Linked DNA regions of Homo sapiens: regions 1, 3, 4, 5 and 6 are each linked to region 2. Evidence: promoter capture Hi-C in 16 types of primary human blood cells and fetal thymus (Javierre and others, 2016). All regions are on one chromosome and are shown on one strand. Each heading gives the region's core, a stretch centred on a gene start or on the middle of the fragment in contact. The rest is flanking DNA. Distances are from core to core; before and after follow the strand shown.

Region 1 (3,531 bases), core at 683-3,182, 1.1 Mb before region 2:
GCTTCATCTCTTTAATAAAGCTGTATAGAAAAAGACATAACTGAGGATTTTAGAACTGTGATCAAACTACTTTTATGGTTTCTATAATTCTCTGTGTTATTTTAATAAAAAGTAACAACAGTTAAGGCATTATTTCATACCTAGAGAATACAAATGTACGCCTTTTCCAGATAACAATCCCCTCATTTCCAGAATTTATCAAAGCTCAGACTTGGAGTCCTCCCCCTCTGCTAAGCTCTTCTTTGGCCAGTAGCTGTTTGCATAGATCACAGCAAGGATGAAAAGAAGGGAGGAAAATCCTCTGGTGATGAGATAAGAGAGGACAGAAGGCCTCTGCTAAGCTGTTCAGTGTTCAGCTTGAAAAAGAAATGGGTGGAAAATTAATCAACAAATCAAAAAGATACTTGGATCCCGAATTAACAGAGTTAAGAAAGGCTAGGGCTTTTTCAGCTTGCTCAAAATACAACCTGAGATGAATCTCTGTGATGAAAGGTTTTCCAGGAGAAAGAATCATCAATCTCATCATTTCCCAGGAGCTAAACAGGTATGTGTGGCAAACACTACCAGCAATAGCAACAGCAGTAGCACTTTACAGCCTCTGTTGCGAGAAAGGCGAAGTGCCTAGCAACCAAAAGGAAGCAGTCAGCCTGAAATGTCACCACTGAGCTGCTAAAATAACCCAAAGGTTTTTACCATTCTAGAAGAGGAAACCTTTTAAGAAAGCGTTAACATGAAGGAAAAAAAAGAAAGGTAAATCTAGTTTCCCCTAGCGTATTCATTTCAATAGACTTTCCCTGTCGGCAGTAAACTAAATTTACTCTGACTTCCTGGGATTAAGAGACTGCTCTTCTCCAGAAATCTATTTAGGTCCTTGTTGGTTGATCTGAGGGCAAGCTAAAGTTCAATGTCAATTTACAGCACACCTTTATCCACTAACCAAGATGATCTTATCTGTAGGCTGTGTTTTACTGGTTGAAAAATAAGGTAATACCATCCATATCTTAATAAACAGTGACATGCCTTCCTTACTGTTCCTTCTACCTGAACTCTCAGTTCCTACTTTCCCTCTTACTTACTGAAATTTTAACAATTTTTTTTAGTTGTAAAGGTATTTTGTTTCCATTTTTAAAGCTGTGTTTATTCACGTCAAAGCAGGCACAGCTCTTATGCATAATTTTTTAATAATCCACTTAAACATTTAACTTGTGTTACTATCACCTTCCTAAACTGTATATAGGCACATTTTTATAAAAATCCACTCAAATGTTCATCTTGACTAAAATGTTACCAAAATACCAAGGGTTCAGTCTAGATCCTACTGCTGGCCGCCTGGAAAGATAATCACTGAAACAAGTTTTGCCTAGGAAGAAGGCTTTAATTGGGTGCTACAGCTGGGGAGATGAAGCTCAATCTCAAATCTATCTCCCTGACTGACTAAAACTAGGGGTTTATATAGCAGGGAAGAAATGTAATAATGTGCAAAAAAATAATAACTAGGGAGGGGCAAAGAGGCATCTGGTGAAGTGATCTGGTAATTTTCAGTTCTTGGATACTTTTTTTTGAGAGGCCTAAAGGTCGTTTCCTGAGGAAGAAACTCAAATAAATACAAGTTTCAAGCTTTAACACCAGAAGGGTCAATCTCTATGTTTATCCAAAAACAACTATCTATGGCACTACTGGGTTGATTTCAAAAATACCTGGCCAAGATAGAGACTCTAATATGCCAACAAGTTTACATTTCAAAGTGTGGGTGGATGTCCCGTGAATTTCCCTCCCTTGTCAACTCTAGCACTTACAGATTATACAATGCCAGGAGGAAAAAGTGAGTATCGGTGTGGAAAACAATAAAAATAAAGCTCATACTTTTCTCCACGCTACTAACTTAAAACAAAGTAATATATTTTGTCTTTTTCAGGAAAGGAATACAGTTTTTAAGAACTTTTCCTATGCCCAGTATATCAGGCTCTCTCAATTTTGGAACTACTGACATTCCAGCCTGGATAACCCTGTTACGGGAAGTTTTCCTATGCATTTTTAAGATGTTTCACAGCATCCCTAGCCTCCATCCACCAGATGCCAGAGGCAGCTCCCCACCAACACACACCCACACCCACACATCCACACACCTCAGCCCCATTGTGGCAATCAACGATATCTCCAGATATTGCCAAGTATCCCTTGGGGCATAAAATTACTCTCCATTGAGAAACATTCAGCTAAATGAATGAGTTAAGATTAACAAGCTTAATTAAGTGGACCTAGAGATTGTTCTGGGGAAGAAAAATAAGACCATCCTGATATTATACAACATGTACAGACACAAACAAACTTACGTCTACAAGAAAGCAAAATGACATAAAGTATGCAGATATCCATTAATGTCAAAATTATTTGAGTTTCTTCGTTAGATAAGGAAGCTGAAGCACAGAGAAAGTTTATTAATTTCACATAAAATCACACAGCTAGCTAGTGAGTGTCAAAGCAGAGTGTGTGTCAAAGCATACCCTTACAGAGTGATTACAGTGCTCTTAAACTACTGTAAGGGTATTCCTTATCTAAAACATAGGGATCCATAGGAGGTACAACAGTACCTCCTTCATAGGGTTGTAAAGATTAAATGCTTAAAAGACAGAATAGTACCTGGCACGTAGTAAGCACTATATAAGTGTTCCTATCATCACCATTTTCATAATCATAATCATCATCATTTAACTGTTTAGGTTTGCAGCAAAATTAATTAACTTTTCTTCTAATTCCCTACTGTGAAGGAGAAATGCTATTGTTTGGAAAGGAATGTTAATGAGATTTAAGAAGTGGGATAAAAAATTATTTTTCAAATACATCACATGACACAAAAGACAACATAATGTGTGCACACTGTTCAGCACCTTGCATTTTTCATACCAGCACATATACATCTACTTTAGTCTTTAAACTGCATGATATACCAATGTATGCATGTATCATTTTACCAGACCTTTGATTAAAAACTTCAGCTGTCTCTAGGTTTGACTTTAAAAAAAAAAAATGCTATTACAAACAATGCTGTAATACCACCACCTTGAACATGCAACTTGGTTAAAATTTTGATAGCTATTTTGAAAAGCTGGATTTCCTAACTCAACATTGAATTAAATGTACTCCAGAAGATCATGGGTCTGTTAACAAGCAGACTCTGACACTGCTAGTTATCATTTCTGCTAAATTTTACCAAAAGAATTCCAAAAAACTCCTCAAAGTTGACACATCAAGATGCTATGGTCACTTCAACCCTTAAAAACACTGAAGAAAACACTTTCAAAGAACATGGCAGGACATTTTGTGATAGGAGTTCCTTGGAATCAGAATTTTAACTATTGTTGATCTGAGTACATCTGCTAGATTAGCAGCAATAACTAGCCATTCTTTGTGGCTTTTGAAATGACTGTCTTAGTCATTGGGGCTGCTATAGTAAAGTACTATAGAAACAACAGAAATTTATTTCTCACAGTTCCGGAGGCTAGAAGTCTGAGATCAATGTGTCAGCAAAGT
Region 2 (3,107 bases), core at 428-2,927:
TCTCTCCCTCTCCCCCCCCCCCCCTCTGTCGTACATGTTGTGTCTTAGCTTTTTGCATCGTTTCGTTTTACCTTCCTCATTTAGCAGAAATGATCGCGGCTATTTCACACATAAACGTGTTCCAGATTCTGGGATTCAGGGTCCTTGTAAATTACAGGACTCGGGTTCGGTCTCAGTTATGTTAAGTTTCATACAATACCAAAAAATAAATAAAATATGATAATAAATTTCAGAGGGTGAGTGAGCGAGACGAGGTGGAGGAGGAAAAGAAACCTCGAGTCTGATTTCTGTAATTTACTAGCGACCCGGATCGCAGCAAATAACAGTGTAACACGAGTGTGGCTTAAGAGGGCTAGGGAGCTCTTTCTAGAGGCATCGACCCCATCCCCGGATAAAGGATCTGCAAGTTTTCTGTCATCGCGACCAGGCAAAGCCGTAACTTACCTTCAGAAATAAGACTTTAAACGGCCAAGGCCTTCCTCCTCCCCTCCACCACCACCCTCAGCCTCGCTCTCTCCACCTTAAACTTATTGACACAACATAATCCCACATTCAAGCAAAATCCTGACACAGCCTCCCTCCTCCTCTTCCCCCTCCTCTCTTCCCTCCCGTTCTCTCTCTCCCTCTCTCTCTGTCTCCCTCTCTCCCCCCCCTTCCCTCCCTCTTCTCTCTCCCCTTCTCCCTCGCCCTCTTCCCCCTCTCCCCCTATTCTTCCTCCAGGCTACTCTGGCACTAAAACAGCACTTTCTCTACTCGCCGCGCATTTGGGTAGGGGTGGGGGGTGAGAGGGCACTGATCTGCGGGGCCGGAACACCCAAATCCCAACTCTCCAGATGAACGAGCAACTGGGCTGCTGTTCCCGGTCACCAACGCAGACGAAACGTTCAATAAATCCACCGAAGGCTGGCTCCTCGTACCTTCCTCCACTGCCCCTGCTCCCCAGGCCCCACCTCCCCGGCAGCCGAGACCAGGCAGGGCTCCACGTACTTTCGCCGAGATGAAGTTTGGGGCTCCCCGGGCGGCCACGAGCCGCCCGCCGGCGTGAGGGCTCTGTTGTTGTTTTCCTGGGGCCGCTCCAGCCCGCGCCCCGGCGCCCGTGCCCCTCTCAGGCGGCGCTGCCTGTGTGCCGAGAGGTGCTGGTTGCAAACGCAGCCTGGCACCGGCTGGCCTACTACTCCCCAGCCCGGCCCCCAGCCTCCCGCTCGCAGGGCACTGCCTCAGCGCCCCCCGCCCCCCGGCCCCAGCCGGCGCGGCCGCCGCGACCCTCGCCCCCGACCTCTCCCGACCCAAAGTTTTGGCGGAGGGGGAAAGTGCCCAGGGAGCGGGCCGGCTGGCGGCGGCTCCGGACGCGCGGGGTTCCCTCCGTCTTCCTCAAGTCCACCCTACCGGCTGCCGCCGCCGCCGCCGCCGCCGCCGCCGCTGCTCCTGCCGCGGAGTCCTTGGGGCTGCAGCCCGGCGGCTCGCAAGTGAGTAGGAAAACAGAAAGTGAGGGGAGTGCGCCCAGGGAGGGCTGGGGATGGGGGGCGCCTACCTCGCGGGCTCGCCGGGCGTGAGGGCGTGTGTGTAGCTAGCCCTCAGCGGCCAGTCAGGGTTTCTCTATGGGAAAGTGGAGAGAAGCTCGCGGAGCCGCTCTGCCTCCGCTTCACTGTACACTGCTCCACATACAGTACATGCAACCCGGAGAGACTGAAAACACTCATTTTATATAAGGCAGCCTGCCATTGGCCCGCGCAGTGACGGACAGGCCGCGCAGCCAAACAAGAGGCCCGTTACACCCAAACACACGCACACATACACACATTTTACAGAGACACACAAAGATCATCACATTTTCTATTTTCTAATGTTCGGGACCTGTAGACAGTAGGAGAGGACAGGTAAAGAGGCCCAGCAGAGTGGGGTAAAGGGGAAAACCCCTGTCTGCACCAAGTTGCAAGGCTTGAAACTGGTGTCCTTTTGACTTGGGAGGGTTATGGTAATAAACTACAACTCCACTGGATATGGAAGTGAGGGGGGTTTTTCATCGCTGCCTTTTGGTGCCCCATGGAAGAGGCCTGCATTGTGTTACGATTTTACAGCCTGACCCGGCTAACAAGTGGCCAAGAAAGGCTTTTATCACCTTGGATTTCTTTTGTCAATGGGTTAGCTATCACATAGGCCAAAATAGTGCAAGATAAGTTTATCAGGACTCTAATGCATTGAGGTTGTTAGTGCCTCATTCGTAGGTAGATTCAAAAAAATCAATATAACAACACACAAAGATAAACATTTTGCTGAAATAGCCAAACAACTTTTAACTGGTCAGTGGACTGCCATCACCTGTGTGGACATGCAAACTGTGCTGTTAGGTAAAATAAGTCATGGAAGATTGGCTATTGACCCTTAGCCTTCAAAACAGACCTTTGATTCAATATATACATGATTTATATTTTGCATATTATATATAAAAATATATGACTCTTTACATATTTCACATCTCATGTGAACATCATATGTTGCATGACTTTTGGAGATGATGAACCTCAGGACTGGTCTTTCTGATTGTTTTTCAACAATGCAACTTCAGAAGATTATATGAGACAGTTCAATACACATAAGTCAACAGGTTGGTGGAAAGAAGTCAAAGCTGGAAATTAGAAGGAATAAATTGTAGATTAAACTCTTTAACCAGCTGAGCAATCTTGAGCAAGTTACTTAACCTCTCCAATGCTCAGACTTGGTTTTGATTTTTAAGATTAAAATAAGAAGCTTTTCCAGATTCCCTCAATTAAATGTTTATTCAGCATCTACTATGTGTCAGGCATTATCTTAGGCCTAGATGTTTTCTTAGGGTTCCTTCCGTTTTAAGAGTTGGTGAATTATTCTCAAATACAAACATTTTGGAGATTACATAAACACTACGATTTTATGGCCTAGGTAAGTAGCTTTAAAACTTAAAGAAAACCCAACTAGGGCAACTTATTTCAGTTCCCCTTTTATTTCCTTGATGCTGTCTTAAGGTTTTTCTCTCGCATCCATAAAGTTGTTAAAAGAGTGTATGTGTGCATGTGAGCACTCCTGTGTAAGAGGGAGAAAGAGAAACAAAATCAGAAAAGTTTAAAAAGTTC
Region 3 (3,111 bases), core at 579-3,078, 1.3 Mb before region 2:
ACAGGAAATGTGGTGAAGGAGTTGTCTTGAGTTTTGATCTGAAAACAGTCGACTTAAATTGTGTAACGTGGGAAGAAAAATCCCACACACCTTTGTAATCTGACATTTGAATTTTTATCAATACCTGAGTCTAATTGAAAAATAAATAAATAAAGGTAGGAATTAAACCAGGAGGGATCTTCCTATCTCTGGAGAGAATCCAGTCATCTCTTCACAAGTAAATTCACATGGAAACAAAATAAGATACACTAAACTGATGAGTAAATAGTAAGCAACCCGTGGGTGTGCTCAGCTGTTGTATTTTCTTGAGCCATGATGGAGGACAGGGAGTTAATATTTTTTGAGCACTTAGTATGTATCAGTTGCCTTCTATACCTCATCTTAATGCGAGGCTAGATGCCTGCCTTATTTCCTGACAATCCTCACCTTATCAGTATGAGTTTCTCTGTCCAATCTAGAGCCACCTGACAACAAGCTCCTGTTCTCAACCACCATCCCAGAATCTTAATAGCAGCAGTTCTTACATGTTGGTGTACATAAGTATGCTATAAGATGCTAGTTTAAAATCCTGGGCCCGTCTAAATTAGACTATTTAGGGTGAAGCACTAGAATCTGCATTTTAACAAGCAGATTTTCTGAGTGCATTTTAAATTACATATATTGTATATGATAAGATATTTTAATATAGATGTTCTGGACAATGCTTTTGGAAACTCATATAAGGAATAGAATCTATATTATTCATTATTAAAATTTCATAACTAGAATTAAGCACACCGGCACATCGTAAGTCTCAATAATTGAGACTTACTCTCAGTGATTGAACAAACAAAACCATGGGTGTCTTGTGCTTTCTTTGTCTTCCATTATAGAAAATAACTCCCTAGTAAGCAAAATACAGTGCATCTTATCCTTTGGACAAAGCTGGCTAAACACTAACACATTTTTCCACTTCAATCACTCCCCCCCAAAATATTTTTTGGTGAATCGTTGACTCAGAGGCTGTAAAACTGAAAGAGACCTTGGAGATTCTCTGGTCTAAGCTTCTTTAAAAGGGATTTTTAAAGTATGTTCCATAGAACACTCGGCCTTTAAGAAACGCAGAAGACAAATGTTTCTTCAACAAATATCTTTGGAAAAAATATATAGCTTTATTTTTACCTCCGTAGATGCATATTAAAGGCTTAGGTAAGTCCTGCGAAAAGGAAACCCAAATAATATTTTTATCAGAGTTTTTCTAAACTTATTTGGCCAGAGGACTCTTTGTTCAGCCGCTAACCATTAGCAGAGTGACAGGTTTTATGAAGCAGGCCTGGATGCTGACAGAACAAGACTTCAGGGAACAGCAGCCTCAGGTTCATGTAGGGATCAGAGGACAACAAAGAATCAGAAGGTTTCATCTTAGAATTAGATGGAACGTAGGGAGGAAGACTGCTGAAAAGTTGAATCCCAGACATTCAGGAAGATTCGGGCACCTGATAAATCAGTTTGAGAGGAGAGGGCCTAGTTATGGCCTTGAGGAGTTGAGCTTTGGTCCTGAAAGAGGGTAACTGGTAAGAAAAGTAGAAGTCCTAGGCTCAAGAAAGGACTACAGAGGTTACCTAAGCAAGACCTTGGAATATGGGCAAAGTAGATGCCCACAACTCGAGCTTACAGAGGACATTGGAAAGAGAAAGGGTTTCAGGACTGGAAATTTTGGTGCTAGCATTCCTTTGTTAGAACAAAATTATCGCAGAGGATGGGGAAAGAAGGAAGGAAGATGCTTTCATCCCAGCTGATCCATAAAGTGCAATTCCAGAAAAAACGGTGTTTAATTATTATTGGCTGTGAATGGAGAGAAGGTCAACTCAGCAAGAATGACTCAGGCAAAAATGCAGGAACTCTGTGGTTTGCTCAGAAGTATCTCTCAGAGCAGCCCAACAGGAAGAGAGACCCAAAGCAAACCCACCTGTTGGGAGAGCAGCTGTCTAAGGGCTTCCCTGCCTCAAGGGTATGACTTTACCCATACAGCTGCAGGAAGCTGGGGAAGGCAAGAGCAGAAGAGACATTAGGAAGGATATGTCCTGCTTCAGAAAGAGCCTGAAGTACCTGTTGAGTGATTACCTTATGGCTTAAAAGGGTTAATGTACCTCCTATGCATGATTGACATCTCTAAATGGTAAAAACTTAGGCTAATAAATCTGAACCACTTCACAGTTTCTAATTATTACAATATTTTTGAAAAGTGATCTTCATTACAATGTTCCATTCCATAGATTTAAATAATCTACGGAGATGTAACAAGATTGTCCAAGGTCACACAGGAAGTCCGTGCCTGCACATTAGTTAGCTCCATAGATGTTTGAAATTTGCCAGGAAAAAAAAAATAGCTTTTCATTAAATATAGATGGCTGAGCACATGGAAACATTATCAGAATATAAAAAAGCATATGGATATTTATTTGTTATAAAATATATTAGAAAGTGCATTCAGAGATTTGAATGATGGCTTCATGAGCCATGTTTAAATCATAAATAAACATGAGGCCTCTGTAGTACTTTTTAATGAGATGGGTTATCAAAATGGAATTTCAAAGAAAGCTAGACTAAGCAGAAATGTCTCGACAAGCTTAAAGCAGTTAGAGATGTTGTAGGAAATTTTGGGGGGAGGTTTTGATGGGCACCTGCCAAGAAATAAAAATATTAAGGCCAACAAAATTGATGTTTTGTTGCCAAAAGAAAATGAAAAACATGTCAAAATGGCAGCTGCCATTCAGAGTTTCAGAAAAATGGGTCAGAGTGTAGAAAGAGGCCCAGTTTTTCAAACTTCTTTTTTGATGATCATCTATCATTTTTATAATTAATTTTCATCACTATAATGTATTTTCTTATATCTGCGTGTGTGTGTATATATGTATATATGTATACATATATAGATATATATATACACATATATATTCATATATATATATATATATATATATAGAGAGAGAGAGAGAGAGAGAGAGAGAGAGAGAGAGAGAGAGAGGGTTTCCAAGCTGTTGAATAGATATTGTATTTACAAATGTATTTAGCTATTGTTTAAATTACTTACAATAACATGCACTAGTGTTATAATTGGAATAAAAGCTG
Region 4 (3,576 bases), core at 516-3,015, 1.0 Mb before region 2:
AAAGAGAGTGTTACAATTCAGTGATGACTTTTTCTGTATTGTATATTCCATCTTTGCTTTTAATCATTTGTGATGGATAATTCTCCAGGATGTCATAGATGCTGCTAACTGTTCCTCGGCTGATCGTTTTGTGACCCTTCTGCTGCCTACAATCCTTGATCAACTTCAGTTCACAGAACAAAATCTAGATGAGGCTTTAACAAGAAAAAAATGTGAAAGGATTGCCAAGGCCATTGAAGTTTTGTTAAATATCCTTTACTGTCATTAACGTGAAAACTGTATAACTAACCATTCTTTTTTTTCTAGTATTGCATTCACTGCATTTTGTCTTTATTTGTAATTTGTCACTTTATGCTCATATTTATCTAGAATTACTGAACTAAAATTTGAACTGTAGAAAAAATTCTCAATGAGTGAAAAAGATCCATGATTTTTTTTCCTTATTTTTCTGTGTGAAACTTTTAAGTTAAAGTACATTTTTTAAAATGCTGTTTAAGCTTGATTTTGACACTTGTATCACAATTTGACATTTGGTGGTAAATTCTAAAATGACTATTCTGTTACTCCATGTTACTGTTTTCTGCTTGATGCTAATTATTTCCCCTGGACGGACGATCAGTAGTGCCATTTTTTGGTGATGTGTATTCGTGGATAAAGAAATGCTGATAGAGTTGTCATGATTTTAGCTCAGTTGTTTTACCTTATGTTTTAAAAATAAAGCCTTCATAATTGCTTTAATAATGGTTATAAGAAAAGACAAGTATATCAACACAAATTCATTCATTTAAAAAGAAACCTTTTAGTTTCACTGCTTAACTTCTATATACTGATTTTCTAGGTCTTCCTTGTGTTTACTTTTTCATAGACCAACTAATTCTGAGTTGCTGGAAGTCCCAATTTTAAAATATTTCATTAATACTTTTTTACTATGAGCAAAGAGCCACTGTATCTCAACCAGATCTCTTAAATGTATCTAGTCAGGTTTCCTTGTATCTCAGAGCAACAAGAATATGTTCTACTCTGTCCTAGAGCAAACTCCACCCCTGTTTAATATCCTCTTCTAAGGTACTGCTCCTTAATTTTCTTCCTTTAAAGCAGTGACTTTCAACCCTGATTTCCTACCTAAAATCACCTGGAGAACATGTAAAAAAAAAAAGAAAATCGATGCCAGAACCTTACTTCAAGAGTTTCTAATTTAATTGGAGTGATGTGAAACCCTGAAATCATTAGGTGGTGTGTGTTTGCATGTTGGCTTTTTTGTTTGTGATTGTTTAAACTACCTGGTTGATTCTAACATGCAGCTAAAGTTGAGAACCACTGCAGTAGGGATACATGATTGCTTGACCTTGGAGATATTTATAATTAATAAAGTGGGGCCTTCTCATTGAATTGGACCACAACTTTTAAAATAATAGCTATTTACATTAATTTATAATATACAAATATGACAAAACAACTTACCCTTATTCAATAAATATTTATTGAACCATTGAGATTCTTGCTAACAAAAAACAGACATCCAATGGAAAGATATCCTCGCTGTTTTAACCATTGAGTCAGAAACCTTTGGTGCCAGTCCATCTCTTACCACTTGCTAGTCATTTAAATTGTGTGAGTTTCAGTTTCCTTGTTTGTCATTGAGCTAATTTAACAATAATTATACTGGATGACAGTGATGATATAATTTGTATGAAATCATCCTGAATGTTATCTTTTACACATAAAGTGAGAATTTTTTTGTTGTATATCTTAACAAAACTTAACCTCTCTGTGGAGATGATACACTAAAAATGCATATTGCAAAAATCTTGACAACTGTCAAGTGTACCACTCTTATAGAACAACAATTTACATATGGCAAGATTGACCTGGGATTTGGAACAAAGGTTGCAGATTCTGAATTATGGTGAGTATATAAACTCTAATGACAAAATGGCAAGGCAGTAAAAAATCGAAAGATGTGGTGATTCTCATCCTTTTGGAGGACCATCCTTTGGTTATAACTTAAGATATAACAGATTAACAAACATATTTTCATAATGAATTTTTTGTAAATTCATTCAATTTGTAGATTGTGTGCTTTTTGAAGAAAGGTATTAACATTTGTTGTTTTTTATTGTTTAGGTTTGTTTTGTCTTGTTTTAACTTACTATAATTATCTAAGGGTTCTGAACATTTCTGGAGCTCCTTTTTGACATTGCCTCAGTAATCAATTTTACTTTTTTAAATGAAAAGCATGAAAAAACAGAAGAGTAGTTTTATTACAAGGAAATCAGTCACTGCTAAAGGCTTTTTAATAACAGACAACTCTCCTTCCTTGGCAGGTCAGGAATTATGGTTAAAGGTGGATTTTCACTGATGGTAATAAGATATTACTTTATACCCCTTCCCTCCTCATGAATTAAGTCCATCTAATCTTTACTGAGGACCTGCTGAGTGGTAGACACTATGATTTGTTTCTGTTTCCACAGATGTCACAATTGTCAGTAATTGTGGACCTTTAGAGTAAGAATTATCTGTTTTTATATTTGTATACTACTTTCAGGTACAAAACTCAGAACATGACCTAGTGTAATTCATTCATTACGTATTAGATATTCTATATTGCCTAAGGTTACCGTCTGTTGTTGATATTCTAGTGACAAAGCTAAGAATTAAATGAACTGTGTTTCGAAACTACTACTTACTTGAAACAGAAAGTTGAAGCAGGTTGGTAGTAAAAGAAACACTGTCTAAACTAAGGCTATTAATGCCAGTTTGTTCTCTTTGGATCTTGAGTTATAAGAATGTTGATTGAGATTTTTACTTCTCAATAGAAACAGGACTTTATCATCTTGAATTTAAAAAACACAAGTGTTGGTTTTTTTCATTTTCTTTAGAATTTTGGACAGAAACAAGCTCTAAGAAATTTTTCAGTTATCTAATTTAAATGTGATTTATCTTTAAAGCAAACTTGCTGCTGATGTAATTTTGAAAACTCTTGATTTGATTAACAAACTTAAACCATTGGTTCCTGGTATGGAAGTAAGCTTCTACAAAATACTTCAGGTGAGTTTAAACTCTTCAAACATTGAAGTTTATTCATACATAAATGGTCCTAATATAAGTTTCTGTTTTAATATTCTTAATCTTTAGAAGATAATTCTCTTAGAATTGGCAATGAGAAGAAAGTTTAAAGTTGTTGTCTTAAGCAGTTATAATAGTCTCACTGCACAGTTATTTTATATACTTTCACAGGAATTGAACATAAGTGCTCATGACACTAATGTAGAGAATGTTCACAATAGTGCTGCTTCCTCAGCCTTTTCCTTTCTTGTGTTGTATTTGTATATTTCTTCATTTGTTTCTGTTGGCATTGGAGGAAGAGTGATATTTGTTTTAGGGTTTTTGTTTTTGGTTAGGGTTGATGTAGGGTATTAAGGGGATAGGGAGACAGCTGGAAGAAAAGGATTGTGATAATTAGAAGGGCTGTGCAGAAAATAGCTAACTCACAAATTTCAATGATAATAGTAGCTGAATATGATCTCTAGCTGTTATCAAAAGGCAAAGTACAACAAATTTAGTTCAAAGTTCTAA
Region 5 (3,132 bases), core at 493-2,992, 1.0 Mb before region 2:
AGTTGACATGTGCATTACCTCTGCTTATGTAGCTAACCTTCAAAACCATGTGATAATTTTTGCTTTAAGCAATTACATGGAAAGACTCTGGCTGTCAACATCAGTATGTTCACCTCTTTGCATGCACCAATACAAAGTAGTTTCTTCAGTGTAACACTCCTGTTTTTCCTTTTGGAAATAATAAGTAATTTGTGGGCAGATACTGCATATAGGCTGTTTCTCTTCCAACTTGCATCTGCTACTTTTAGTATTGTTGATAATTCTTACTTGAATCAGTTATTAATTTGATGGTTGGTTGCCAAGTGGATATTTTCCTACTTTTTAAAGGTAGAAAATTGAACATTTTGGTAATTTTATAATGTACTGAAAATAGCAGTCTATATGACATCACCCATATCATTCACGAAATTAAAATATAGTACTTAGAGTTTTTCAGTTAATACAGCATTTACTTTTTTTGCATATTCTTACAAGCAAAGCATGTGAGATTTGCTTTCTGTAGTTTAAGAAAATAAATAGGCATGTTAAGCATATTGATTTTTTTTTAACTACAAGAACTTTTTGATATTATTTTTCTACCCAAACCCCCTAATTTGAGAATTGCCTATTTAAATCATGACATTCAATTCATTTGGATCATCACTTTACCTTGGCTCTCAGTGATTACCAATAAATATTAAATGAGTATTACCCATAATAAAGTATTTTGGATTAAGAAAATAATTGTACATTTCCAGCCTTCACTAAGTTTACATTCTAGATAATTAACTTTTAAAAATTAAAACTTGGTCACTGCTCATGCCTGTAGTCCCATAATTTTGGAAGCCTAGGCAGGCAGATCATTTGAGGCAGGGGTTCCAGACCAGCCTGGGCAACAAAGTGACACACGTCTCCACAAAAAATAAAAAAAAATTAGTTAGGTGTGGTGACATGTCCCTCGGGCTGCAGTGTAGTGAGCTGTGATTGCACCGCTACACCTCAGACATATATATATATATATGGCCTATTTTTTTAAAGGCAGATGTTTCATTGATTTTTTATGTTGTGAATAATGAGCATGATAAGTCCTTGAAATTATATACCTCTGTACTCCATAAATTGAGAGGGAACATTGTGAACTCAAAAAATCATGGTTTATTTTCAACATGCAAATCACTTTGAAACCTTACACAGTCTCACTGAGTTAAGCATTTTGCAGCGAACTGACTTTCTTCCTGTCATCGAAGACCTCTGTGAGTCCCGTTTGGTTTATACTTGTGTTCATTTAAATATTTCAAAACTACCCCAGAAAAAACTTTATTATCACATAACCATGAATAAGAGGTATAACTCTTAAAACTCACCTTTTTTTGCACATTGAGCTACAAGTATCCCTTCATAAATGCAAGAAGGAGTAAGCTTCTTTCCTTCCAACTAAATATAACATTTTAGTTGTCTATTTCCTAAGGACCCAGTATCTATATTCTCTCGATATCTCAAAATATGATGGATAATCCCAGGATACATAGCAAAGGACTTTTTACATTCTGTCCACTACTACATTAGAGAGTGACATTTTCAAAGTCAACAGAGTGGATTGGCTTTCACTTTCATTATGTTATTAAAAACTAATTTTCCAGTAAGTAGCTGAGCATTTGGCAGGGATTTAGTAATGAACATGATTTTGCCTCTCCATTACATTATCTTCACTGTTATTCTAAGTATCATATTTCATCTCACTTATCTCAAAGAGCCAAAAGATATAATGTATTAGAGTAGTGTTATGCTTTTCTCAAACTTCAAATAAAAAGGCTTATGATTAGCCCTAGCAAAAGACAGCACTGTTCATCTTCAATTAGGCAGGGTTTTCATTTTAACTGAAAGTAAAGGCTACTATCAACTACTCCATACTAATTTGTGTAATACCCACAGTTAATCAGCATTTTAGAGCTGAGAGAATTCTGAAAGAACAGTGATCCCAACCCCTTTGTGTGTAAAAACGATGTGAAAAAAGATGCATTCTCAGAAAAGAAGTCCCATGATTCAAACACAAACTGATATGACTTTTAAATTAGTATGTGTTGTTATGGAACACACAGAAGCTTCACTTCTAGCAATTTATCTGAAAGAAATAAGGTTGTGCACTAAGATTTATGTACAGTAATATTATGGCACAAAATTGGAAACAATTTATACAGTAATAGGAGATTGGTTAATCAGTATAAGGTACAGTCATGGAGTAAAATATCATGCATCCTTTTTGAAAAGTTACTGAAATATATAATAGGTATTGGGAAGAGATTTTTGGTGTGTTAAGTGAAAAAAAGTAAACCAAACTATTTGTAAACAATGATTCAGATACCTGAATATCTTTAAGATTTGTTTGTGTGTGTGTGTGTGTGTGTGTATGTGTATATTAGAAACAGTGAACAGTGGTAACCTCTGCATAATGAAATTATAATTGACTTTTTTGGTTTCTAGAAGTACAATGTTACTTTAACTTTTTAAAACCATGTTTTAAAACATTGGTTTGGTAACCGCATCTAGATTTGAGTTCTGGCTCTACCTAAGGAAAGTTTTTATTTAATGTTTTATTCTTCTGTAAAATGAGAATAACACATACTTGTTAGAAAAAATACAAATAAAGCTCATGGCTTTTAGTAGATTTTCAATAATGGTTTATCTCCCTTTTGGAGATGGAACGAAGTAAAAAGTTTTATGTCCTTTGTCCTTGGTTTCCTCTTTCTCTTCATCAAACCTTTGGCCAATTGAGAAAGTAAAATGAACGGTAAAGATTCTCTGTTATTTTCGAGAGTAGTAGAGGATGGAGAGATTAGGGGTTAAATCTTTAAATTATTGTCTACACCCCAAGAGTAACACTTTTATTGACTAGACTAGTCTGGGTTGCTCAGACTAACTTATTTATATTAGATATCAATTATAAGCAGTGGTAAATTAACATCTCTTTTTGAAAGAAGCATTTTTCATACTTCAGATTAGCCTTAGGTATCATAGTAGTTTCTAATTAATGACTGTACCTACAAAATTCATTGTGAGGTTGTACATTGTTACTTCTTTAATTTCCTGGAGGAGATTATGAGGAAAAGATGTAGTTAAGAAAAGTTTGCCAAATTTTAGTGGTAAAACAATATG
Region 6 (3,193 bases), core at 256-2,755, 1.7 Mb after region 2:
GAGAATCCTACATAGATTAGTGATGAGAAAGGTAGAATTAAACCATAATGACATCCTAGGTACAAACAGCTTTAAGAAGAAGATAAAATCTGAAGTTCTGATAAAACTAAGTTCAGATTCAAGTAGAGAAAACCAAACAGGGTGAAAAATTAAGAAGTCATTGAATTGTATGATTAGAGGCCATTATTGACCTTTGTGGAGCAGTTTAACTTATGTGATGGGGTGAGATTAAAATGAGTATGTGGATTATTTAAAAATTGTTCTAGAACTGTAACAACAATGAAAAGGAAGGGAGTTCTGTTAGCTTGAGGATTTGAACATCATTGAAATAACTCTGTGTGTGTGTGTGTGTATGTATGTGTGTGTGTGTGTGTGTGTGTATGTGTGCACACACCATAGGAGAGGTTCAAAGATTGGTGGGAAAAAAAAAAGATTGATGGGAAAGGATGTAGTTAGGGAATGGCCTAAGATGCAAGGGAAAAAGAAATAGTTGAAGCAGTAGCATTCTAGATTAAACTGTGGGAGGGAAAGAGTAGGAACAAGTAGAAGGGTTAATCTTGGCGAATAAATGTAACTTCCACTTACACAGGAGGAAAGCAAGGGAATATACAGAGAAGTTTTGAGGGAATTTGTAAATTTTATATTGGGTTGTCAGGAAGTGATTTAAGGCATAATATTTATAATGTTTAAACCATGTTTTTAATTTTTATATCATGAAATATGCAATATATGTATTTTAACTAGTCTTCTAGCATTTAAGTGGGTAAATAAGTAAAAAATTAAAATGGAAATCAATTCTCATCTTTAATATTAAGTTTATCTTATTATACACTTGCTGTGACTTAGAGGATGCCACAGTGCTATTTTTATCTACTCTGCTTGGGCATATATTAATAATATTATTACAATTTTACTAAAGGTTTTTTTTGTTTTTAAGTATTTGTAGGTTGCTAATTTTTTTCAAGTAATGAAAGACACATTTTGAAAATATCCAACACATTTTATAGGTTTTTAACATAGTTACATTTAGATGATTGTTGAGCTTATATTATCTTACAGTATCAATGAAAAAAGTATTAATAGTTATAATATTCTACCTGTTAAAAGATTTAAAAAAATATTAAAGCCCTACGTCTTTTCCTGAGAGCCTCTTGGGTTTGAAGAAACCAGAGGATTCCATGTCAGCTGACAGGAACACTGACCTGGGCTTAGCCTTATTTCCTGCTTTTCTGCACAGAACATTCCAGGCTTTTTAAGGGTTTTAGGCAGCATGAGTAACTTTATGAGCTAAAAGAGCTTCTAAAAATCATGATCCTCAACAAACTGTTCAGTGCCCTTGGTCTAATTTTCATACCTTTGCAAAATCTGCAGGGATTTTGCCTTGTGATGGAATGTAAAATATGGAAGGGAGAAGAAATATTAAGAAGGAGATAGGGCTAACTATGTTCTGGACACAGTGCATAGCACTTTACATTTCCTCTTGTAAGAATTATAATATCCTAAGAGGTTTCCCGAAGAAGAACCCTGCCCAAGGTTGTAAAGCTAGTAAATGTTAGGGCCAGATCCTAGGTTTGCTTGATTCTAATGTCTGTGTTCACAGTATGAAGAGTGAAGCACACTGCTCCATGGAATAATATGATGCTTCCTTTTTCCAAAGGAAGTAAATCAAAAGGGCATTTCCCCTCCTCCACTTCCATATTTGATATTATCAAATTCTTCTCCAAACTTTGTACTCATTTTTAGGCAGCTTTATTCAATGTAGTTGTGGATATGCTATTTGTAATATAATTTTCCTGAGAGGTTCGTCCTTACCTTGTTTGCTTCCTCCTCCTCTTCCTCCTTTCTGCCATCAAATATTTGTTGCACATCTACTATATGCAAAGTTCCATATTAGGTGATAGAGAGAGACCAATGAGAAAGACTGTTCTTCACTTTCAAGGAAGTTCCATTCTCATTTGGAAGAAAGAGAGTGAACAGAATACACAATTGATATTTTAATTACAACTAGTCAGTTCTTTAATGGTGCTTCTTAATGTCAATCTTCTGAAGACATCTTCGTGGAAAACCATAAAGGTCTTGGTAATTTTCTGTAAATTCAGCTGTGCTGGACTCATGATCAATTTTATATGCCAACTTTGTTTTGCCCAATTAATAATCTATTAAAAAAGTGTATTTTTATACTTTTTTACACTGTACATTTTTATACTTAGTAAAATACATTTTTATAATTTTTATATTTAGTAATTATTTGCTGCATTAAAATGGAAAGAACCCAAAGAACTCTTCGGTACCTGTTATTATAAAGAGAGAGATATATATATACTTTAGGTCACTGTAATAAGAAACCTCTTCTAACATTTATAGGAGGAGGACAGGGCTTTCTTTTTTTTTTTTTTTTTTTTGACACGGAGTCTCACTCTGTGGCCCAGGTTGGAGTGCTGGAGTGCAGTGGCACGATCTCGGCTCACTGCAAGCTCCGTCTCCTGGGTTCACGCCATTCTCCTGCCTCAGCCTCCCAAGTTCCTGGGACTACAGGCGCCTGCCACCACACCCTGCTAATTTTGTTTTTGTATTTTTAGTAGAAACAGGGTTTCACCGTGTTAGCCAAGATGTTCTCGATCTCCTGACCTCGTGATCCGCTCGCCTCGGCCTCCCAAAGTGCTGGGATTACAGGCGTGAGCCACCGCGCCTAGCCCAGGGCTTTCTATATTGTTTTTAAGAATGAGGCAGTTCACTTGAGAGTATATGACTTGATTCAGTGTAACTGAATGCTCCATGAAGTGAGGCGTGTTTTATAATGAAAGTCTTATAGTATAGGCACAATTCCTTACTGTTGAAATTTTCATTTTATTTGGTAAGAGTTCTTTCCTATGTTTCACAGGCTGGTTTGAACCTTGTTTGCAAGGAATGTACTATCTGATCTAATACATTTTTATTACCTTTTGGCTGGAAGTTTTAATTAAGGCGCAGTCAGAAAACTCTTTAAATGCAAGATTATTCCAAGAATAAGTAATGACTTTGAAAATTCTTATAGCATTAGTAAATCCTGTTTTTGTATTTGTGCTTTTGCTTTGATATGGTTGAATATATGTATCTAAATACATATTTATGTATTGGAATGCATAGCCAATATATTAATAATATATTTTTATTCATGTGAAACAATGCATGTACAGAGAGAGTCTCCTTAAAT

Evidence for each region. The method cuts DNA at HindIII sites, captures the fragments that hold promoters and counts their contacts. A CHiCAGO score of 5 or more calls a contact.
Region 1: a contact is called between a fragment that was not itself captured here and the fragment with the promoter of BBX in region 2, in 6 of 17 cell types (naive B cells, M2 macrophages, total B cells and 3 more). The highest score is 9.0, in naive B cells.
Region 3: a fragment that was not itself captured here is called in contact with the fragment with the promoter of BBX in region 2 in 5 of 17 cell types (naive CD4 T cells, non-activated CD4 T cells, fetal thymus and 2 more); the score reaches 8.0 in naive CD4 T cells.
Region 4: a fragment that was not itself captured here is called in contact with the fragment with the promoter of BBX in region 2 in 5 of 17 cell types (M2 macrophages, M0 macrophages, total B cells and 2 more); the score reaches 12.3 in M2 macrophages.
Region 5: a fragment that was not itself captured here is called in contact with the fragment with the promoter of BBX in region 2 in 2 of 17 cell types (total B cells and M2 macrophages); the score reaches 6.8 in total B cells.
Region 6: a contact is called between a fragment that was not itself captured here and the fragment with the promoter of BBX in region 2, in 1 of 17 cell types (neutrophils). The highest score is 6.3, in neutrophils.

Annotation. Positions count from the first base shown.
Region 1 is chr3:108,599,844-108,603,374 of GRCh38, reverse strand. The region is part of intron 1 of DZIP3 (DAZ interacting zinc finger protein 3); the gene reads right to left. Among named protein-coding and RNA genes, the nearest start is that of DZIP3, 12 kb to the right of the region's middle. The HindIII fragment of the contact is 626 bases long and covers 1,620-2,245 here.
Region 2 is chr3:107,521,532-107,524,638 of GRCh38, reverse strand. BBX (BBX high mobility group box domain containing) reads right to left here and starts at 1,677. Exons shown (of 18, transcript NM_001142568.3): 1 at 1,532-1,677. RefSeq lists silencers at 1,001-1,070, 1,181-1,270, 1,301-1,610 and an enhancer at 2,011-2,060. The HindIII fragment of the contact is 5,936 bases long and covers 1-2,750 here.
Region 3 is chr3:108,819,615-108,822,725 of GRCh38, reverse strand. No RefSeq gene overlaps it. Among named protein-coding and RNA genes, the nearest start is that of TRAT1, 1.6 kb to the left of the region's middle. The HindIII fragment of the contact is 1,565 bases long and covers 1,046-2,610 here.
Region 4 is chr3:108,564,827-108,568,402 of GRCh38, reverse strand. CIP2A (cellular inhibitor of PP2A) reads left to right here. Exons shown (of 21, transcript NM_020890.3): 10 at 89-248; 11 at 1,765-1,906; 12 at 2,949-3,048. Among named protein-coding and RNA genes, the nearest start is that of CIP2A, 23 kb to the left of the region's middle. The HindIII fragment of the contact is 2,532 bases long and covers 500-3,031 here.
Region 5 is chr3:108,544,949-108,548,080 of GRCh38, reverse strand. It overlaps a transcript of MYH15 not described here. Among named protein-coding and RNA genes, the nearest start is that of MYH15, 36 kb to the right of the region's middle. The HindIII fragment of the contact is 683 bases long and covers 1,401-2,083 here.
Region 6 is chr3:105,858,872-105,862,064 of GRCh38, reverse strand. All of the region lies in intron 2 of CBLB (Cbl proto-oncogene B), which reads left to right. Among named protein-coding and RNA genes, the nearest start is that of CBLB, 8.5 kb to the left of the region's middle. The HindIII fragment of the contact is 4,116 bases long and covers 1-3,193 here.